Linked DNA regions of Homo sapiens: all the other regions are linked to region 2. Evidence: promoter capture Hi-C in 16 types of primary human blood cells and fetal thymus (Javierre and others, 2016). All regions are on one chromosome and are shown on one strand. Each heading gives the region's core, a stretch centred on a gene start or on the middle of the fragment in contact. The rest is flanking DNA. Distances are from core to core; before and after follow the strand shown. Region 1 overlaps CECR2 (CECR2 histone acetyl-lysine reader). Region 2 holds the start of HDHD5 (haloacid dehalogenase like hydrolase domain containing 5). Region 3 has its middle 22 kb from the start of CECR2.

Region 1 (2,753 bases), core at 220-2,719, 250 kb after region 2:
TATATCTTTGGTGATCTTCTAGTTAAGGTATTCTGCTCATTTTAAAATTGGACTCTTTGTCTATTGAGCTGTTATATATTCTGGTTTTGCTTTTTCCTAATCTAAGGTCACAAAGGTTTGTTTCTTACATTTTCTTCTAGAAGTTTTATTGTTTTAGATTTACCATTTAAGTCTGTGCTTCATTTTGAATTGATAATTTGCATATGATATAAAGTACTGATCGAAGTTGGTGGGGTTTTTTTTGAGTGGGGAGGGGGCATGTGTTTAGTAGCATTTGTAGATAAGACCACCCTGGCCGGGCACAGTGGCTCACACCTGCAATCCTAGCACTTTGGGAGATGGAGTCAGGAGGATCACGAGGTCAGGAGTTTGAGACTAGTCCAGCCAATGTGGTGAAACCCCGTCTCTGCTAAAAATAACAAAAATTAGCCGGGCGTCATGTTGCACGTCTGTACTCCCAGCTACTTGGGAGGCCGAGGCAGAAGAATCTCTTGAACCCAGGAGGTGGAGGTTGCAGTGAGCCGAGATCGTGCCACTGCACTCCGGCCTGGATGACAGTGCGAGACTCTGTCCCCATCCCCCCGACCCCCCTGCCAAAAAAAAAAAAAAAAAGACTATCCTTTATTAGTTGCCCAAGTCAGTTTTCCATATACATGTGGGTTCATTTCTGGACCCTGTTCTTTCTTTTTTTTTTTTTTTTTTTTTTTGAGACGGAGTCTCGCTCTGTCGCCCAGGCTGGAGTGCAGTGGCGGGATCTCGGCTCACTGCAAGCTCCGCCTCTCGGGTTCACGCCATTCTCCTGCCTCAGCCTCCCCAGTAGCTGGGACTACAGGCGCCCGCCACTACGCCCGGCTAATTTTTTGTATTTTTAGTAGAGACGGGGTTTCACCGTTTTAGCCGGGATGGTCTCGATCTCCTGACCTCGTGATCCACCCGCCTCGGCCTCCCAAAGTGCTGGGATTACAGGCGTGAACCACCGCGCCTGGCCCTGGACCCTGTTCTATGTCATTGTTCACTCTGTTCTGTTTTCAAGACAATATCACAGTATCTTAATTAGTGCAGCTTTTAATAAGTAGTGAAATCAAATAATGTTAGTCCTCTCACTTTGTTCATTTTCAAAGTTGCTTTGGCTATTTTATATTTTTTATATTTCCATATGAATTTTAGAATTAGCTTATCAGTTTCTACAAAAAAAGCCTGCTAGCATTTAGATTGGAGTTGTATTGAATATCTAGGTCAATTTGTAGAAAATGGGCCTCTTAACACTATTGAGTCTTCTGACCCATGATGATGGTACCTCTCTCTCTCTAGGTTTTCTTTGATTTCTGACAGAAAAGTTTTATATTCAAATTCTCAACTCTTTAGGTATCTCCCATCTTTTGTCAGATTTATCCCAAAGTATTTCATTCTTTTTGATGCTATTATACATTTTTGAAAGTTTTAGGCCAGGCATGGTGACTCACACCTGTAATCCCAGCACTTTGGGAAGCTGAGGCAGGCGGATCACCTGAGGTCAGGAGTTCAAGACCAGCCTGGCCAACATAGTGAAACCTTGTCTCTACTAAAAAATACAAACAATTAGCTGGGCATGGTGGTGGACGCCTGTAATCCCAGCTACTCAGGAGGCTGAGGCAGGAGAACCGCTTGAACCTGGGAGGTGGAGGTTGCAGTGAGCCGAGATTGCGCCATGGCACTCCAGCATGGGCAACGAGAGCGAAACTCCGTCTCAAATAAAATAAGATAAGATAAGATAAAATAAGATAAAATAAAAAATATAAAATAAAATAAAATATAAAATAAAATAAATTAGACGGGTGTGGTGGCTGCCGCCTGTGATCCCAGCTACTCCAGAGGCTGAGGCAGGAGAATCGCTTGAACCTAGGAGGCAGAGGTTGCAGTGAGCCGAGATCGTGCCACTGCATTCCAGCCTGGGCAAAAGAGTGAGACTCCATCTCAAAAAAAAAAAAAAAAAAAAAAAAAAATTTTCAATTGTTTGCTAGTATTAGAAATAGCGTTGAGTTATATTACTCTTGTATCTGTAACCTTCCTAAACTCCCCCCTTTTAGCAACCTGTTTGTAGATTCCATTGGATTTTCTGCATAGATGATCATGTTGTCTGTAAATAAAAATAGTTTTGCATCTTTTTGCAATGTGGAAGCCACTACTTCTTTTTCTTACCTTAGTGCACTGTCTAGAGCCAACCATAAAATGTAGAGGCCAGAGTAGACATCCTGGTCTTGTTCCTCATCTTAGAGAAAAAGCATTCAGGTCTTCCCCTTTTCCCTTTCTATTTCTTCCTGCAGCCATGGGTTATTTAGAAATACGAATATATTAGAAGTGTATTAGTTATTAGAAGTGTGAAGAATATTAGTTTTCAAATATTTGGGAATTTTCCAGAGAGCTTTCTATTAATGATATCTAATTTAACCCACTTTAGTCAGACAAGACATTTTGTATGACTTGCATCCTTTTAAATGTATTGAGACTTGTTTTATGGCCCAGAATATGGTGTCTTTTGGTAAATGTTTCATTTTCACTTGAAAAGAATGTGTAGGACCGGGCATGGTGGCTCACGCCTGTAATCCCAGCACTTTGGGAGGCCAAGGCGGGAGGACCACCTGAAGTCAGGAGTTCGAGACCAGCCTGGCCAACATGACGAAACCCCGTCTCTACTAAAAAAATGCAAAAATTAGCCAGGCGTGGTGGCACACGCCTGTAATCCCAGCTACTGAGGAGGCTGAAGCATGAGAATC
Region 2 (2,742 bases), core at 235-2,734:
ACAGCTGTTAAGAGCTTAGACTCTGGCACCAGACTACCTGAGTTCCAGATTCTGCCACTTACCAGCTGTGTGCCCTTGGGTAAGCTGCTTAACCTCTCTGTGCCTCTGCTCCATCTATAAAATGGGAAGACTAATAATAGTACTTTCCTCGGAGTTGTTATAAAGATTATACGAATAACTGTGAAGTACTTAGAATAGTGCCTGGCACAAAGTAAGCACTATGTGTTTTTTTCATGCAAGTAATTTGGCCGGGTGCACTGGCTCATGCCTGTAATCTCACCACTCTGGGAGGCCAAGATGTGAGGATCATCTGAGGTCAAAAGTTCGAGACCAGCCTGGCCAACATGGTGAAACCCTGTCTCTACTAAAAATACAAAAATTAGCCGGATGTGGTGGCGGGTGCCTGTAATCCCAGCTACTCGGGAGGCTGAGACAGAAGAATCGCTTGAACCCGGGAGGCGGAGGTTGCAGTGAGCAGAGATTGCGCCACTGCACTCCAACCTGGTGACAGAGATGCCGTCTAAAAAAAAAAAATGCAAGGATTACTGTGAAATCCGTATGTTAATGTAAAATATTACTTGTGCGTTTAGAAGACAAAGTGATTCCTTTTTCCAGAAAAGGCAAAACGGCCCAAGGGAGCGTGAGAGCCGTGGATCTGACCAACCTGGTTTAGTGTCCTGTGCCGTCTCCCAGCTGCAGGACCTGAGAAAACGTACTTGAAAACTCGTCAAGCTTCGGCTTCCTGACCACACAAGGTCACACCTTCTCAGAAGTTGCGGGGAGGCTCACACATCACTACCGCGCCGGGCACACAGCAGGCGCCGGCTCCAGCCCTCCTGCTCCCGCCCGCGGAGCCTCCAGCGCTCAGTCGAGGTCACAGCGAGCTGAACTGAACCCAAGGCCCGCACCAAACCCACAGGCACTTGGGGGCGGAGCACCCGCAGGCGCGGCTCCCGGCGCGCGGCCCAGTTTCCTCCACATGCAGATGAAAATCACGACCCAAACGTCCTCATGGTGGAAATCAGAAGACGCGCAGGGAAAACAGGGACGCGGAAACTGCCGGGAAGCGCAGGGGCTGACAAGCAGCCTGGCCCAGGCCGTCCCACGAGCGCTCTCCCGCGGGAGTAGCGTTTCCGAGGCCGCCAGCGAGTCAGAGGAAGGCAGGGCGCATCCGCCCTCCAGCAAGAACGCGATGCACTCGGGCGCGACGACGGTCCAGGCAGTTCCCAGGAGGCTGGGATACCAGCCCGGCCGCCCCTCCTTCCCCGCGGCTCCCCGCCCCGCCTCCGGCCCTGAGTGGCGAGTGGCTCGGCCAGAACCCGGACGTCCTCACCTGAGCGGGGCCCACAGCATAGCACCTGCGGGCGGGGCGGCCCTGGAGCCCCGCAGCCGCGCGCGCCGCCCGCCAGCAAAGCCCACGCGCCGCGCCGAGCGCAGCCACACAGCCCCACGCAGCCATCCGGCCGTCGCCGTGCGCACGTGCACGGCGTGCGGCCCCCCCCCCCCGCGAGTCCGTCCGCTGCACAGCCAATCAGCGGTCGGCGCGCGCGGCATCACGGGAGTTGTAGTCCTGTAAGCGCGCGGAGCCCGTCGGGCGCCTATGGAACTCGACCCGCAGGCCAAAGGGGCTCCGTTGCAAGGAAGAAGTGCGGGGTCCCGCCGCCTCCTAGACCGAGATCGCGGTGAGCTGGCCGCGGCGCACAATGGGCACGGCCTGGGCGGCGGCGTCCGTACTATCGCCCTGTGCCTGCGGATCCCGGTAACATTGCGCGGCAGGCCCCAGGCCGGCCTCCCTCAGCTTCGCGGACTGTCTGGGCCGGGGGTCTCAACCTTGACTTCAGGGCCGGGCCGCTGGGGCAGACCCTTAGTGATGTTCAGGTCCTCTGGGCCCCTGCCAGTCAAGGGACGCTCGTCGCGCGCCAATTGTTAAGTCTTTCATTGTTTCTGTAAACCTGCTGACGCCCTCCCAGCGCATAGGGAGACTGCGCACGTGAGTCCGCCCCCGCGCGCACTGCGGAGAGGTAGAGGCACGAATGTAGTACAAGGTACAAAATGACTACTCCAGAGAGGGCCAGATGACTAAGTCAGCAAACACTTAGGGAACACGACTGTGTCCGCTGCGCGTTTCCCGGAGTAGACACAAGGGTGAATGAACAAAGAATGGATTTCGGTCACTGAAAGTGGAGAGGTAGCCGACTCCGTCCGTGGAGGCCCTTAGCAGAGCTGGATCTGGTAGTCCCCCGGTCATGAGGGGAGATTCTGCTGGAGGAAAGAGGTCTCCATTCCCACCGTTTGAAATGTGTAGGATGCCCTCAGATTCTTTGGCCCATTCATAGGTATAGCTATGCTAAAAACGCGGGACCCTACAATGTACTTAGCACTAGCAGAGAGGGAGTCGAGGATATGGACAGAGACTGCACTAGCTCACACATTAGCAGGCCAGGGTGCGGTGGCTCACCCCTGTAATCCCAGAACTTTGGAAGGTCAAGGTGGGAGGAAAACTTGAGTCCAGGAGTTCCAGACCAGCCTGGGCAACATAGGGAGACCCCTTCTCTATTTTAAAAATAATAAAATAGGGCCGGGTGCGGTGGCTCACACCTGTAATCCCAGCACTTTGGGAGACTGAGGCGAGTGGATCAGGAGGTCAGGGGTTCAAGACCACCTAGCCAAGATGGTGAAACCCCGTCTCTGCTGAAAACTGCAAAAATTAGCCAGGCGCGGTGGCAGGCGCCTCAAGTCCCA
Region 3 (2,848 bases), core at 184-2,683, 190 kb after region 2:
AAAGTCTCTCATATGAGACTGAAAAATCATAATTGTTTTTGGCAGAGCCAATTAGCACATTTAACATGACTTTTCTCCAGCGACAACAATGCAGCATCATCTCATCAGCCTCTTCCTGTAGGTGCTATTTTCCAGTGCTTTTCTGAAGCTTCTTTACATTCTCTACATGATACTGGCATGTGGCACCTTTATTCTGACAGCAGTGAAGGCCTGTTTAATGCAGGCTGAAAGGGTCATCTTCTAGTAGGCAAATATAAAATTGTGTAATCAAATCCCAAAAACCAATTACAGAAAAGTAGTTGAAGGAGATCTTGGCCTGACCATTTATTTATTTATTTATTTATTTATCTGAGTCAGAGTCTTGATCTATTGCCAAGGCTGACGTGCAATGGCACGATCTCAGCTCACTGCAACCTCCGCCTCCCCAGTTCAAGCAATTCTCCAGCTTCAGCGTCCTCAGTAGCTGGGATTACAGGTGCCCACCACCATGCCTGGCTAATTTTTGTATTCTTAGTAGAGTTTCACCATGTTGGCCAGGCTGGTCTTGACCTCCTGACCTCAAGTGATCCATTCGCCTCTGCCTCCCAAAGTGCTGGTTTGATTACAGGTGTGAGCTACCATGCCCAGCCAGCCTGACTGTTTATTTTTAAATTGGGGGGTTTCTGTTGTCTCTGGACTCAATATGAACCAATGGTGTGATGAGCTGCCAAAACCCTAATGCTAGCTTGGTTGTCTTAAGATAAACATGCTTATCAGCTCAAGGGAAGGAAGCAACACTGTCATACTGGGCGTTGGTGAAATAACTTTTGCTTTGTTTTGTTAGGTACAATCCCAAGAAGAACCTTGAGAAGGCTCAACAGGACTTTAAGAAGTCTTGGAATCGCGCCACTGCACTCCAGCCTGGTGGCAGAACAAGACTCCATCTCAAAAAAAAAAAAAAAAAAAAAAAAGAAGTCTTGGGCCAGGCTCCGTGGCTCATGCGTGTAATCCCAGCACTTTGGAAGGCTGAGGCAGGCGGATCACCTGAGGTCAGGAGTTTGAGACCAGCCTGGCCAACATAGTGAAACCCTGTCTCTACTAAAAATACAGAAATTAGTCGTGCGTGGTGGAACGCTCCTGTAGTCCCAGCTACTTGGGAGGCTGAGGCAGGAGAATCACTTGAACCTGGGAGGCGGAGGTTGCAGTGAGCCGAGATTGCGCCACTGCACTCCAGCCTGGGGGACAGAGCGAGACTCTGTCTCAACAACAACAACAACAACAACAAAAGTCTTGAATCCACGCTATGCGAGGAAGGAACGAGGGAAGGACCACAGCTCTGTCCTTAGTTCTTGGCCCCCCTCCCTTCCCATGTCCTCCCTGGGGAGCCTCCCGAAGGGCTTGCTACACCCTGCTGGCTCCCGCACCACGTCCACTGGGACCTCCCTGCTGGTCCTGTGCATCCGGCTGGTCATCAGCTCATCGTGCCTCAGGGTTACAACGTGTATACCTGCTTGCTTCAACTTTCTCTGAAGAGCCATAGTCTGGATTTCAGGCAGTGAGGTCATCCCTCGCCCAGTCACGCGAGTGTGGGATATGATGAGGTTTCTCTTCAAATAGCCCTATCAATCCTTTATTCTTTAATTCATATACCCTTAAACCCCTTTTTCCTTTCTCTCTTTTTTTCCTTTCTGCCTTTGTTACATGCCCAGACACGCCACAGTACCAGGCTTATCAGTACCAGCTCACATTCTTTCCTTATTTAAAAAAAAAGATGACCGGGCGCGGTGGCTCACGACTGTAATCCCAGCACTTTGGGAGGCCGAGGCGGGCGGATCACGAGGTCAGGAGATCGAGACTATCCTGGCTAAAACGGTGAAACCCCGTCTATACTAAAAATACAAAAAAATTAGCCGGGCGTGGTGGCGGGCGCCTGTAGTCCCGGCTACTCGGGAGGCTGAGGCAGGAGAATGGCGTGAACCCGGGAGGCGGAGCTTGCAGTGAGCCGAGATCGCGCCGCTGCTCTCCAGCCTGGGCGACAGAGCGAGACTCCGTCTCAAAAAATAAAAAAATAAAAAAATAAAAAAGACTAGCTCGCTAACTCATTACAGATACCCTTTCCCCTTTTCCCCTCTCTCCCTTACGTGTCCACCTTATCTAAAAAGAGTTCAAATGTCTAGCCAACCGGGATTAGTTCAGTTTGTGCGACCCGACCCTGGCCAATGGGGAAAGGGTACAGGGGCAGGACTTGGCATCAGGAATAAAGGCTCTCGTGCGCCTTTGTTCAGGTGTGCTCTCATGGTGACCGGCCAAGGAAAAGCACCCCTCTGCGCAAAAGTAAAATTGCTTTGCTAAGAATCCTTTGTTTGAGTGTTCAATCTCCTTAAGATTTTAAGTGTTATTCCCAACACAAGTAATCTAGGACACGTATTTCTCAAGCAGAACACACATCAGTCACCAAAGCCTGTAGGTTCTAGCTGCACAATATTGTCCTGACTCCTCCTTTTCTTCATGCCCTCTGCTGTTGCCTTCGGTTAGGACCTCACTGCTTCCTGCCTGAATTACTGACTTCAGCCTTTGTGACTTCAGTCTATTTTCTAACTCGTCTTTCTGACTACAACCTATTTGTTCCCTTTGCTTCTTCAAGCCATTCTCCATCATTGTGCCAATGTTCTAAACGTAAACAGTTTCTATCATTTTCTTGCTTAAACTCTTTCAGTGGCTTCTCCAAATGTGTCAGCATGAAGCTTTAACTGTGAGCTGAGCACAAAAGGACTTTCCTCACCTGAATCCTGTTTACATCTGTAGCCTCATTCTTCTTCCACAACCAACAAACATGCTTTGCCCCAGACACTCCGAGTGACGCGACTAT

Evidence for each region. The method cuts DNA at HindIII sites, captures the fragments that hold promoters and counts their contacts. A CHiCAGO score of 5 or more calls a contact.
Region 1: a contact is called between a fragment that was not itself captured here and the fragment with the promoter of HDHD5 in region 2, in 1 of 17 cell types (naive B cells). The highest score is 6.2, in naive B cells.
Region 3: a fragment that was not itself captured here is called in contact with the fragment with the promoter of HDHD5 in region 2 in 1 of 17 cell types (naive B cells); the score reaches 5.4 in naive B cells.

What each region holds. Positions count from the first base shown.
Region 1 is chr22:17,403,685-17,406,437 of GRCh38, forward strand. All of the region lies in intron 1 of CECR2 (CECR2 histone acetyl-lysine reader), which reads left to right. Among named protein-coding and RNA genes, the nearest start is that of CECR2, 36 kb to the left of the region's middle. The HindIII fragment of the contact is 3,899 bases long and covers 1-2,753 here.
Region 2 is chr22:17,157,793-17,160,534 of GRCh38, forward strand. HDHD5 (haloacid dehalogenase like hydrolase domain containing 5) reads right to left here and starts at 1,485. Exons shown (of 8, transcript NM_033070.3): 1 at 1,334-1,485. The coding sequence starts at 1,459. It overlaps HDHD5-AS1 (HDHD5 antisense RNA 1), which reads left to right and starts at 1,597. Exons shown (of 2, transcript NR_024483.1): 1 at 1,597-2,045. RefSeq lists a silencer at 1,167-1,496. The HindIII fragment of the contact is 6,885 bases long and covers 731-2,742 here.
Region 3 is chr22:17,346,439-17,349,286 of GRCh38, forward strand. No RefSeq gene overlaps it. Among named protein-coding and RNA genes, the nearest start is that of CECR2, 22 kb to the right of the region's middle. RefSeq lists an enhancer at 621-915. The HindIII fragment of the contact is 2,575 bases long and covers 147-2,721 here.